Regions from separate parts of the Homo sapiens genome. Here regions 2 and 3 are each linked to region 1. Evidence: promoter capture Hi-C in human tissues and cell types (Jung and others, 2019). All regions are on one chromosome and are shown on one strand. The core of a region is centred on a gene start or on the middle of the fragment in contact, and the rest is flanking DNA. Distances in the headings are between cores, read along the strand shown.

Evidence for each region. Contacts are between HindIII fragments. The study calls those that stand out against the background at their distance.
Region 2: a contact is called between a fragment that was not itself captured here and the fragment with the promoter of PRKAG2 in region 1, in 1 of the 25 tissues and cell types used here (mesendoderm cells).
Region 3: a contact is called between a fragment that was not itself captured here and the fragment with the promoter of PRKAG2 in region 1, in 1 of the 25 tissues and cell types used here (thymus).

The regions. Positions count from the first base shown.
Region 1 is chr7:151,875,501-151,878,448 of GRCh38, forward strand. PRKAG2 (protein kinase AMP-activated non-catalytic subunit gamma 2) reads right to left here and starts at 1,615. Exons shown (of 16, transcript NM_016203.4): 1 at 1,007-1,615. The coding sequence starts at 1,120. PRKAG2-AS1 (PRKAG2 antisense RNA 1) reads left to right here and starts at 1,542. Exons shown (of 3, transcript NR_038926.1): 1 at 1,542-1,640; 2 at 2,337-2,366. RefSeq lists an enhancer at 358-477 and silencers at 668-807, 868-917, 1,680-2,109. The HindIII fragment of the contact is 16,422 bases long and covers 1-2,948 here.
Region 2 is chr7:152,152,551-152,155,553 of GRCh38, forward strand. KMT2C (lysine methyltransferase 2C) reads right to left here. Exons shown (of 59, transcript NM_170606.3): 47 at 1,717-1,895; 48 at 1,460-1,596; 49 at 155-404. Among named protein-coding and RNA genes, the nearest start is that of GALNT11, 130 kb to the left of the region's middle. The HindIII fragment of the contact is 5,593 bases long and covers 1-3,003 here.
Region 3 is chr7:151,366,381-151,369,316 of GRCh38, forward strand. NUB1 (negative regulator of ubiquitin like proteins 1) reads left to right here. Exons shown (of 15, transcript NM_001243351.2): 9 at 559-745; 10 at 1,481-1,588; 11 at 2,355-2,507. It also overlaps a transcript of WDR86 not described here. Among named protein-coding and RNA genes, the nearest start is that of NUB1, 26 kb to the left of the region's middle. The HindIII fragment of the contact is 5,819 bases long and covers 1-2,936 here.

The DNA of each region.
Region 1 (2,948 bases), core at 365-2,864:
TTCACTGCGCACTCCCACCCTGCCCCGGGAGAGCAAAATAACTTTCTCTACGGAGCACTCTGGTGTGTGTGTGTGTGTGTGTGTGTGTGTGTGTGTGTGTGTGTGTGTGTGTGTACACAAACATTTACTTGGTTGGCTGAGGCGGAGGGTGTGACCCAGTGGGCCACACCTCCCACCGCCCTACCCCGCTACGTGGAGGCGAGGAACAGTGGCCGCGGGCTACCGGGGCGCCTTCCGAAAAGAGAACCACTACGCGGCCCGCCGCCCCTCTGGCTGGACAAAGTGAAGCCGCAGGCAGATCCGAGTCGCCAATGTCCTCCCGGGCGGCTGGCGCGGACGGGGCTGAAGTTCAATGCAGCCTGCACGGATTAGGGAGCTCCGAGCCCCCAAATACCACAGAGACCCAAAGTACACTCCCGGGGCGGGGGAAGGGAACGGCGGCAGAGGAGACCCCCGCTCCAGGCCCAGAAACGCCCGGAGAGAAACTGGAGCGGAGGGGGTGCATTGGAAGACGCAGCTACACAGCTCCCCCCAACCCCCGCCCCGCTGCTTTCCCCACCCACCGCCCCTCCCCTCTCCTCCCTCCCCTCCCCTCTCTCCGTCTCCAGCAGCCGAGCGCGGGCTCCACCTCCCCGGAGCGCAGTCCACACCGTCCCTTTTCAGCAAAACAACACAACGCACCGCCCCCCGCACCCGCACCCGGCTGGATACCGGGCTACGCCCAGCCGCCCACCCGCCGCGCCCGGCGCCCCCTCTAGTCTGCAGCCGCCCAGCCCCCGCCCCAGGCGGAGCCCCAGCCCTGGCTGCACGCGGGCAGAGAGAGAGATTGAGCCCCGGCTCCGCCAGCCCAGCTCGGGCCCTGTCCCTCTACCCTTTCCCCAAGCCGCCCGAAGTGACAGGAGGGGCACGCACGGCGCGCGCGGGGCGTCCAGCGTTAACCGCTTCGGCGCCGGGGACGGGAGCGACAGGAGGGCTGGGGAGCAGGGGACCGAGTGCTGGGACTCACCGGAATGTGCACGCGCAGCGAACGCCTCTTCTGGCTGGCATTTTTCTTGCCGCCGCTCCCGCCGGGGCTGGAAACATCTTTTTTCTTCTTGGTGTCCATAACCGCGCTTCCCATAACTCTAACCAGAAGTTGATTCTGCGAAACTCCTCGGGGGTTCGGTCCCCTCCTTCCCTCCCCCGGCCGCTGCCTTCGGACTGGAGCCGCGCGCTCTGTTACACCCTGAAGCCACCTCGTGGGGACTTCCGCGGAGAGGGAGGGTGAGCAGGGAACTCGCGCGGCCGCCGCCGCCGCCGAAGCGCCGAATTCAAGCGTCCTTTCCTACGGAACCCTCGTAGGCAAATCAGTCAAAGCCCGTCCCGGTTCTGGTGTCTCCCCGGGTTACTCGTGGCTGAGGTCTCCCGCTGGGTGACAAAGTTTTCTTCCTTTTGCAAAGCTAAGAAACATTTTCCACCCTCTCGGCTCCTCCCACAGATTCCCAGAGGTAATCTGAAAGGCAGGTGCAATTAAAACCAGCAATTTGGAAAACAAGCCTCCTATGCCTGTGCCCAAGTGGGGAATCTGGAACCAGTAAGCCCGTTCGTGCATAAATGTAATCCTCGGCCGCAGAATAAACCAGCTCGGAGCCTGCAGCTGGGTCCGTCCTCCTTTCTGGGCGAGAGGGAGGGCGGCGGGGGAAGAGGAGGTGCAAGGCGAGCCCTCTGCGCAATTAGGCTACGGGCGGCCGCTGGCAGAAGTTCTGGCGGCGGCGCTCGCGGCCCTGCGCGCCGGAGGGGGCGCCCGGAGTCCAGCGGGCCAAGAAGGGCAGGGCGCCCGCTCCTCGCCCCCCGCCGCGCCGCGGCCCCAGGGGACCGCAAGGGGACAGTGAGGGGCCGGGCCTGGCACCGACGCAAGCTCGGGGAGCGCGGGTGGTGGGAGGCGGCGCGTGTTGAACAGGAAGTGCGCGGCGTGCAGCGCCACCGTCCCGCTCCCCGTCGCCCCACGCCGCCCTCGTCGCCGCGCCCAGACCCCTGCGGCGGCCGCAGCCGCTTGGGACTCGCTGCGAGCTGGTTTCGGATCCATCCCGCCTCCCGGCGTCTCACTGTGTGCCCTACCCTTTGAAACACGCCCCCGCGCCCGCCCTGCCGTAGACCAGGCAGCGAGGAAGCCCACAGTCTCCGGGGGCGCTGCGCGCGAAGTAGCACGTGCTTCTCGAAACACCGCAGCCCCCGGGTCCCGCCCCGCCCGGCGCGCGCACTCGAACCCGCCCAGAGAGCGGTGCGTGGCGCTGGGTGCGAGCAGGGTCTAGCCACCCCCACCCTCACCCCACCCCACCCCACCCTGCTTTTTTCAGGTTCATCAAGGTTTGCGCAGTGGATCCGCGGTAAGTGCGTGTCCCCACGCCGCGGGAAACGTGGGGCTCCTGAGACTGCGGAAAGAATTGGGAGAAGGGGAGGGCTCGAAGACCCGGGCGAGGGTTCCCGGTGCGGCCCAGGTCCTTTAGAGCCCCGGGTGGGCATCCAGTACCGCCTGCTGCCGAGGGCCCTAGAGGGGTTGGGGGAGGGGGCTGGTGTGTCCCCCACCCCCAGATGCGCCCCAGGATGGCGCGACCTCGGCTCCCTGGTGGAAAGTAGGGGGAGTGCTGGCTTGGGGGTCGCTTCCCCTCCTGCTCTAGTTTCTGAGGATGTGATGACCCCAAAGGTCATTGGCGCTCCCAGAATGCTGACGTCAGCTCAGCCGCTCCGAGTAATCAGTAATGCAGGGAGGCCACCCGCAGAAAGAACGCGACAGGGGTCGCTTTGGGGACACCATAGGGCCTTTACTCCTTTTGAGGTGCGTGCTTTCGCAGGACTCCCTCCCCAGAGGAGGAGGCATGATCAGCCCACCCAAAGGATCATCTCTTAGGAAGCAGGCGTGCGCCCACGCAGGGAGAAGCATCCTTCCTTTCAGCTGCTTGCCGGGTGGC
Region 2 (3,003 bases), core at 380-2,879, 280 kb after region 1:
AGAAAACAGAACACCCACACATGGTAAGTTCACCAAGGACTATACGCCAGCATGTTACCTGTCCGTTGTTAAAAGATAATCAGTATCTCAAAGAGTAAGCTTAACTTTTGAATCAGGAATGGATTTGGGGTTAACAAAAAGCTCACTAGCTCACCATTGCTTGTTGGAGGAAATGGTACATTAGGCTGCTTCAGCCGGTAAGAGCTCACTAATCTGGGAGGGTTTGCAGATCCTGGCGGAGGCCCACGGAGAAGTAAATGCTGTCGATACTCCAAACCCGGGTTGATTCTGTGGCTACTGACCAAACCCATGGATGGGACATCTGGAGCACTGCTAACCTCATAGCTGTTAGGGATTCGGACGTGAAGAAGGTCGGAAAATGCAGCCACAACACTGCTAATGTTCTAAAACCAAATGCAAATGCTGTATTATTCACCCAGAAGGCAACAGTGAACCACTGAAGAAAAATACACACTTAGGATAAATCCTCTTTGCATGATACATAGATTCTAAGAAAATCCAACAAATTTTATTTAGACTTAAAGAACCTCAGGAAAAAAATTAGCTCTAACGAACTAATATCCAAAAAAAGAAATTTATAAACAGAAATCCTCATAAAGGGATTCCAATTAACATTAAATATCTAGTAACACATTAAACTATTTTAGATATTGTAACATCTGACAGACCCCGTCAGTTCCTACAGGTGGTCAGAAAGCTTACTTCCAGGGGCTTCCCTCCAGCTCTGACACAACCCGTAAGAACAGACAAAGGTCTTGCTACTGCTGTATTTTGTTGATAACCAAAATATCACATCATTGGACTTCTAGTTTGGTCTCTACTGAAATGTCTTCACAGAATTCAGAGTTAAAAAAATAAAAAATCCTCAGGAAATTACTTATGTTTGATATAAGCAGATGCTACTTGAAGAACATTTCTATTGCTTCTGCAAAACTATTACTGTTGATAAAGTTCTTTTTCATTGCTTAATTTTCTTCTCTGTTAACAGTTACAAAGAAGTTTTTTCTGAGATGGACATGATGGCTCACACATGTAGTCCCAGCTACTGAGGAGGCTAAAGCAGAAGGATTACTTGAGCCCAGTAAGTTTGAGGCTGCAGTGAGCTATGACTGTGCCACTGCACTCCAGCCTGGGCAACAGAAGGAGACTGTGTCTCTATTAAAAAAAAAAAAAAAAAAAGAGTTCTCTAAAGTATACATCCTTTAATAAGAAAATGTGAGCTCTAATTTCCCTTTTTACTTGACGTAGGCTGAGACCAATTCAATGACAAACGATGGCACTCAAAGGCAGCTGAGAGGTCTGCAGTGAGCATCAGCTCTGCTCTCTGACCCTTTATCCTCAGTGATCCTGTTTGTGTGTGTTTTATGGTAGACACCTGACCCATCTTTGAAAATTGGGGACATACTGTTTAACATTAAGAAGTCATTTAATCTTTTACCTCAGCAGCTGTAGGATGCAGAGTAATTGCTACAGATATAAGACCTGATCTGGGACCATTTGGGGAAGGACCAAAAGGTGACGCAAAATATAAAGTGCCTGGCTCAGTTTTGATGTCATTCCTTCTTGATTCTGAACCTTTAAAAAGAGAGAAAAAAAAGAGGAAAATAGTGTTAATGGATTTTCAAAATCAAAATATTTACATTAGTAAATTGGCGTAGTGTAAAGGGAAATAATAAGGTTAAGTGTTGTTCTTACTTTTCCCAGCAGTGCTAGGAAGAATTGGAATGATGGGGGACGGCACCGGTTCTGGAGGCTCCTCCTTGACCAATGACAGATCTGGATACCTGCTCACTTCTACCCCAACCACACTCTCAGGAGAGGATGAGGGAACAAAACTGTCAGGAGTATCTCGATCACCACAGTGATCCTGTATCCTGAAAAAACATAAACACACACATCAAAGTCTGCAAATCCACCACTGGGGGCTTCCTGTACCAACCCTGCTGACATCTGTGAATACAGCTGTAAGGATACTCTGGGCAGCACCTATACGATGAGCAGCAAATGAATCAGCTCAGAGCCACACTGGGAAAAAAATACAAGAACAATATTTAGTTACAAAATAATTTAAATGGTATGTTTCCTTTTAACGAAAGCTTCAGCACCAAAGTTTGAAGACCTGCCAAAGAGGAAGATGTTCTGATTAGCATGTAACATAGAGAGCATGAAAGCACCTTTTCAAAATCCCAGATCGTTGAGCCTAGGGCAGCACTCCTGCAGCTTGAAAAGGAAAGAGCTGCTGGTTGGATTTAACAATAAAAAAGGAAAACTTTAAAAAGACAAAAAAAAAAGGAAAGAGAAGTCCAACACATATGCAATGGTCACACCTGCATTCACCTGACTGGGAAAACAGCTGTCCTACTGCTGCTCTTTACACTGGCAAGATGGGAGAAAACTTAGCCATTGACTTGATCGGCCCTTATTTTTCTTAACTGATAAAGTGAGGTGAGAAAAACAAAAGACTGGTCCCTTCTGTTGAGTTCAAGTTTGAGTCTACCAGGCCAATTGTGAGGTCTCAGACTAAGTTCCACAACCCTGTGGAACTGCTGTCTCCCACTCCTCACGCAGAGAAGTAGCTGTCATGCAGGAGACCCAAGAAAGGCTGGCCTACTGAGGTACAGTAGAAAGAGGACCTGGATCCTCAATTGGGACAGATTATTCTCCACTTCGGTCCAAAGTTTCCCCATTAATAAAGTAAGGGACTTAGGTTAAATAAATGTCTCATCAAATAGAGGGTAGTGGGCAGATTTTCCAAAGAAGAGATAATTATTTGATGAAGTTGTAAGAACCCTCTGGATCTAAAGAGTTGGCTAGCGATCATCTACTAAGGGAACTTGATTCTCCCCAATTAGAATCTTACAGTTAAAGAACTGACACAAAGACATCAAACCCCAGACAGTTCTTAAACTCTCTTCCACGACGGCGTTCTCTGATATAGCAACTTCTGCTCTTTCATTTTAGACATCTACAAACAACAATAAA
Region 3 (2,936 bases), core at 425-2,924, 510 kb before region 1:
TTTTTGGTGTCTTTAAAGAAGTGGTGTTCAGCCCTGGCTGTACACTAGAATCAGCTGGGGAGACTCTGGCAGTATAACCACCAGGCCCAACCCCCAGAAATTTCTGTTATGTTTGGTCTGGGTGGGATCAATGATTCTTAAAGAAAGAAAGAAAGAAAGAAAGAACGTTGCTCTGGCCCAGGTGATGCTGATTTGCAGTCAGGATTGGAAGTCACAGCTTTAAAGCATGGTCTTCCCCGTATTTGCTGAGGGCCTCTGAAACAGTGGCCCTGGGTTCTGCTTCCTATCAAGGGGCTGCATGTGTGTCCTGGGGCAAGTGGTGGTAAGCTTTGATTCCTAAGCCCTGATTTCTGATTTCTCTTTCTTTCCCCCATTAGAAGGATGAGATTATAAACACAGCTCCCTTCCTAAACATTAGGATCTCTCTTTTAGAGCAGTCAGCCTTTGAATATATACCAAGAACGGGGAAAGAATTCCAGTCATTCACAAAAAGGTTTCAAATGCTAAAAATGTTTCAAATGCTGCTTGGCAGTGATGTCACTGTCCTTCTCTTTCCAGTGAGTGTTGCAGAGAGCTGCTGGACACAGTGGATAACTACGCCGTCCTCCAGCTGGATATAGTGTGGTGTTACTTCCGCCTGGAACAGCTGGAATGCCTTGATGATGCAGAAAAAAAATTAAACTTGGCCCAGAAATGCTTTAAAAATTGTTACGGAGAAAATCATCAGAGACTGGTCCACATAAAAGTATGTTCCTGGAATTCATCTTATGTCTCGTTGAGTCCATTTCTAGCATTTGTGTTTATTCCTGTTAAAGTATTTGAACTACTGCCAGAAGGTAATTTCATTTTGATAGTAGTATGCAGTATAGTCTTTTTAAACTATATATTTATAAAGTGTTCAATGTTTTACAAATCTGGCTGTCTCTCTTACTTAGCGTGTGAGCATTTAGCCCAAAGGAACATGGTTTGCTAGTCATAGAACCCCATCAGTGATCACCCTGACCAGGAGAGAGCTGCTGACTTCTTTATATCGGTAGAGTCTAATTTGCAAGATGTAAATGCAGAAAATAGACATTTCAGCAGTAATGGTTTACGTGAATGAGTCACAGCTCAAGAGCTGTGGCTCGAGTAAGGATTTTTCTGATTTCCCCAAGTCATCAAAATCCTGCTGATGCAGACTCTCTGATACCTGGTTTGGATTTCTGCATACTTCTCTGCTGACCAGAAGGGCCACTGTGCTGCATGTCTGGAGGCTGGTGCCCTGACACTGACTCTCCTGTGTGGCATGAGGAATGTTATCATACCACAGGGGATGGGGAAGAGGGGGCTTCACTTTTGCCGTCAGTCATAGTGAAGCCATGGACATTTTAATACCTATCATGTTGCCCCTCTGGAGACCAAGGGAATGACAGAGATGAGTATTATAGACCTGTAATTAGAAATAAGGCAATTTTATCCTTTTTTTCTTCAATAATTTTAGGGAAATTGTGGGAAAGAGAAGGTACTGTTTCTAAGACTCTACTTACTTCAAGGGATCCGAAACTATCACAGTGGAAATGATGTAGAGGCTTATGAGTATCTTAACAAGGTAAGAAAAGTAAAGTTGTAACCAATTTTCACCTCCTTTTAAAAAACATTCCCAGAAGTTAAGGATTTTAACTTAGTAGTTTGTGACTTGTGAGAAACATGCCTGTGCTTTCTCCGTGCACAGGAGATGTTGAACCAGAAACATATTTGTATATGTTAGAGTACAGCCAGATGCTGTAATGAGACTTCAAAAAGACAGTGACTTTAATTGGATAGAAGTTTATGGCTCACTCATCTTGCCGTCTAGAGGTGAGCCAGGCCGGAGCAGTGAGCAGCCCGCCAGCCTCAGCGAGGCGTCCTAGGTTGCTCCTGTCAGTGCCTCTTCCAGCCAGCAGAGGGGGCAAGAGAGAGTCCAGAGCAGGCCACTGGAGAGATGACCCCGCAGCTGCACCCAGCGCTGTGGCTGCATGCCATTGACTTCGACTTCACTACCTGGCTACACCCAGCTGCAAGGGAGGGTGAGAAATGCCACGTGCACAGCTGAAATTCGGGGGCTTTTGTTGCAAAAACAAAGTGGTTACCAGTCACTTCTGCAACACCCAGCCTCTTACCTCGTGTTGTGCTGTGGCTAAGTTATGTGAGTAGAGGTAGTGTTGGTCTGTTTCCATTTGTACTTGTTAATAACAGGCCTAGTTTAGAGATTTTATCCAAAATCTGATGCCTTTTAATTCACATTGGATACAATCTAATTTCTTTTAGGCTTTCACTTTGTATTAAGCTTTAAGTATTGCCGTGGTTACATGATTCTTACATTTCCCTGTCTCTAGGCACGTCAGCTCTTTAAAGAGCTATATATTGATCCATCAAAAGTGGACAATTTGTTGCAGTTGGGGTTTACTGCCCAGGAAGCCCGGCTTGGCCTGAGGGCGTGTGATGGGAACGTGGATCATGCGGCCACTCATATTACCAACCGCAGAGAGGTACCCACTTTCACATGCCCTAGCTCTCTTGGGTATGAAAGAACAAAAAAAGATAATCCCACAGGAGTGTTAATAACCAGGAACTCTTTATTACTCCAGATTGGGAAGGAAGGAGAAACTTGTCCTTTTTTTTTTCTTGAGACAGAGTCTCACTTTGTCATCCAGGCTGGAGTGCAGTGGCACGATCTTGGCTCACTGCAAGCTCCGCCTCCCGGGTTCAAGCAATTCTCGTGCCTCAGCCTCCTGAGTAGCTGGGATTACAGGTGTGTGCCACCACACCTGGCTAATTTTTGTATTTTTAGTAAAGATGGGGTTTCACCATGTTGGCCAGGCTGTTCTCAAACTCCTGACCTCAAGTGATGCGCCCACCTCAGTTTCCCAAAGTCCTGGGATTACAGGTGTGAGCCACCGCGCCTGGCCGAAACTTGT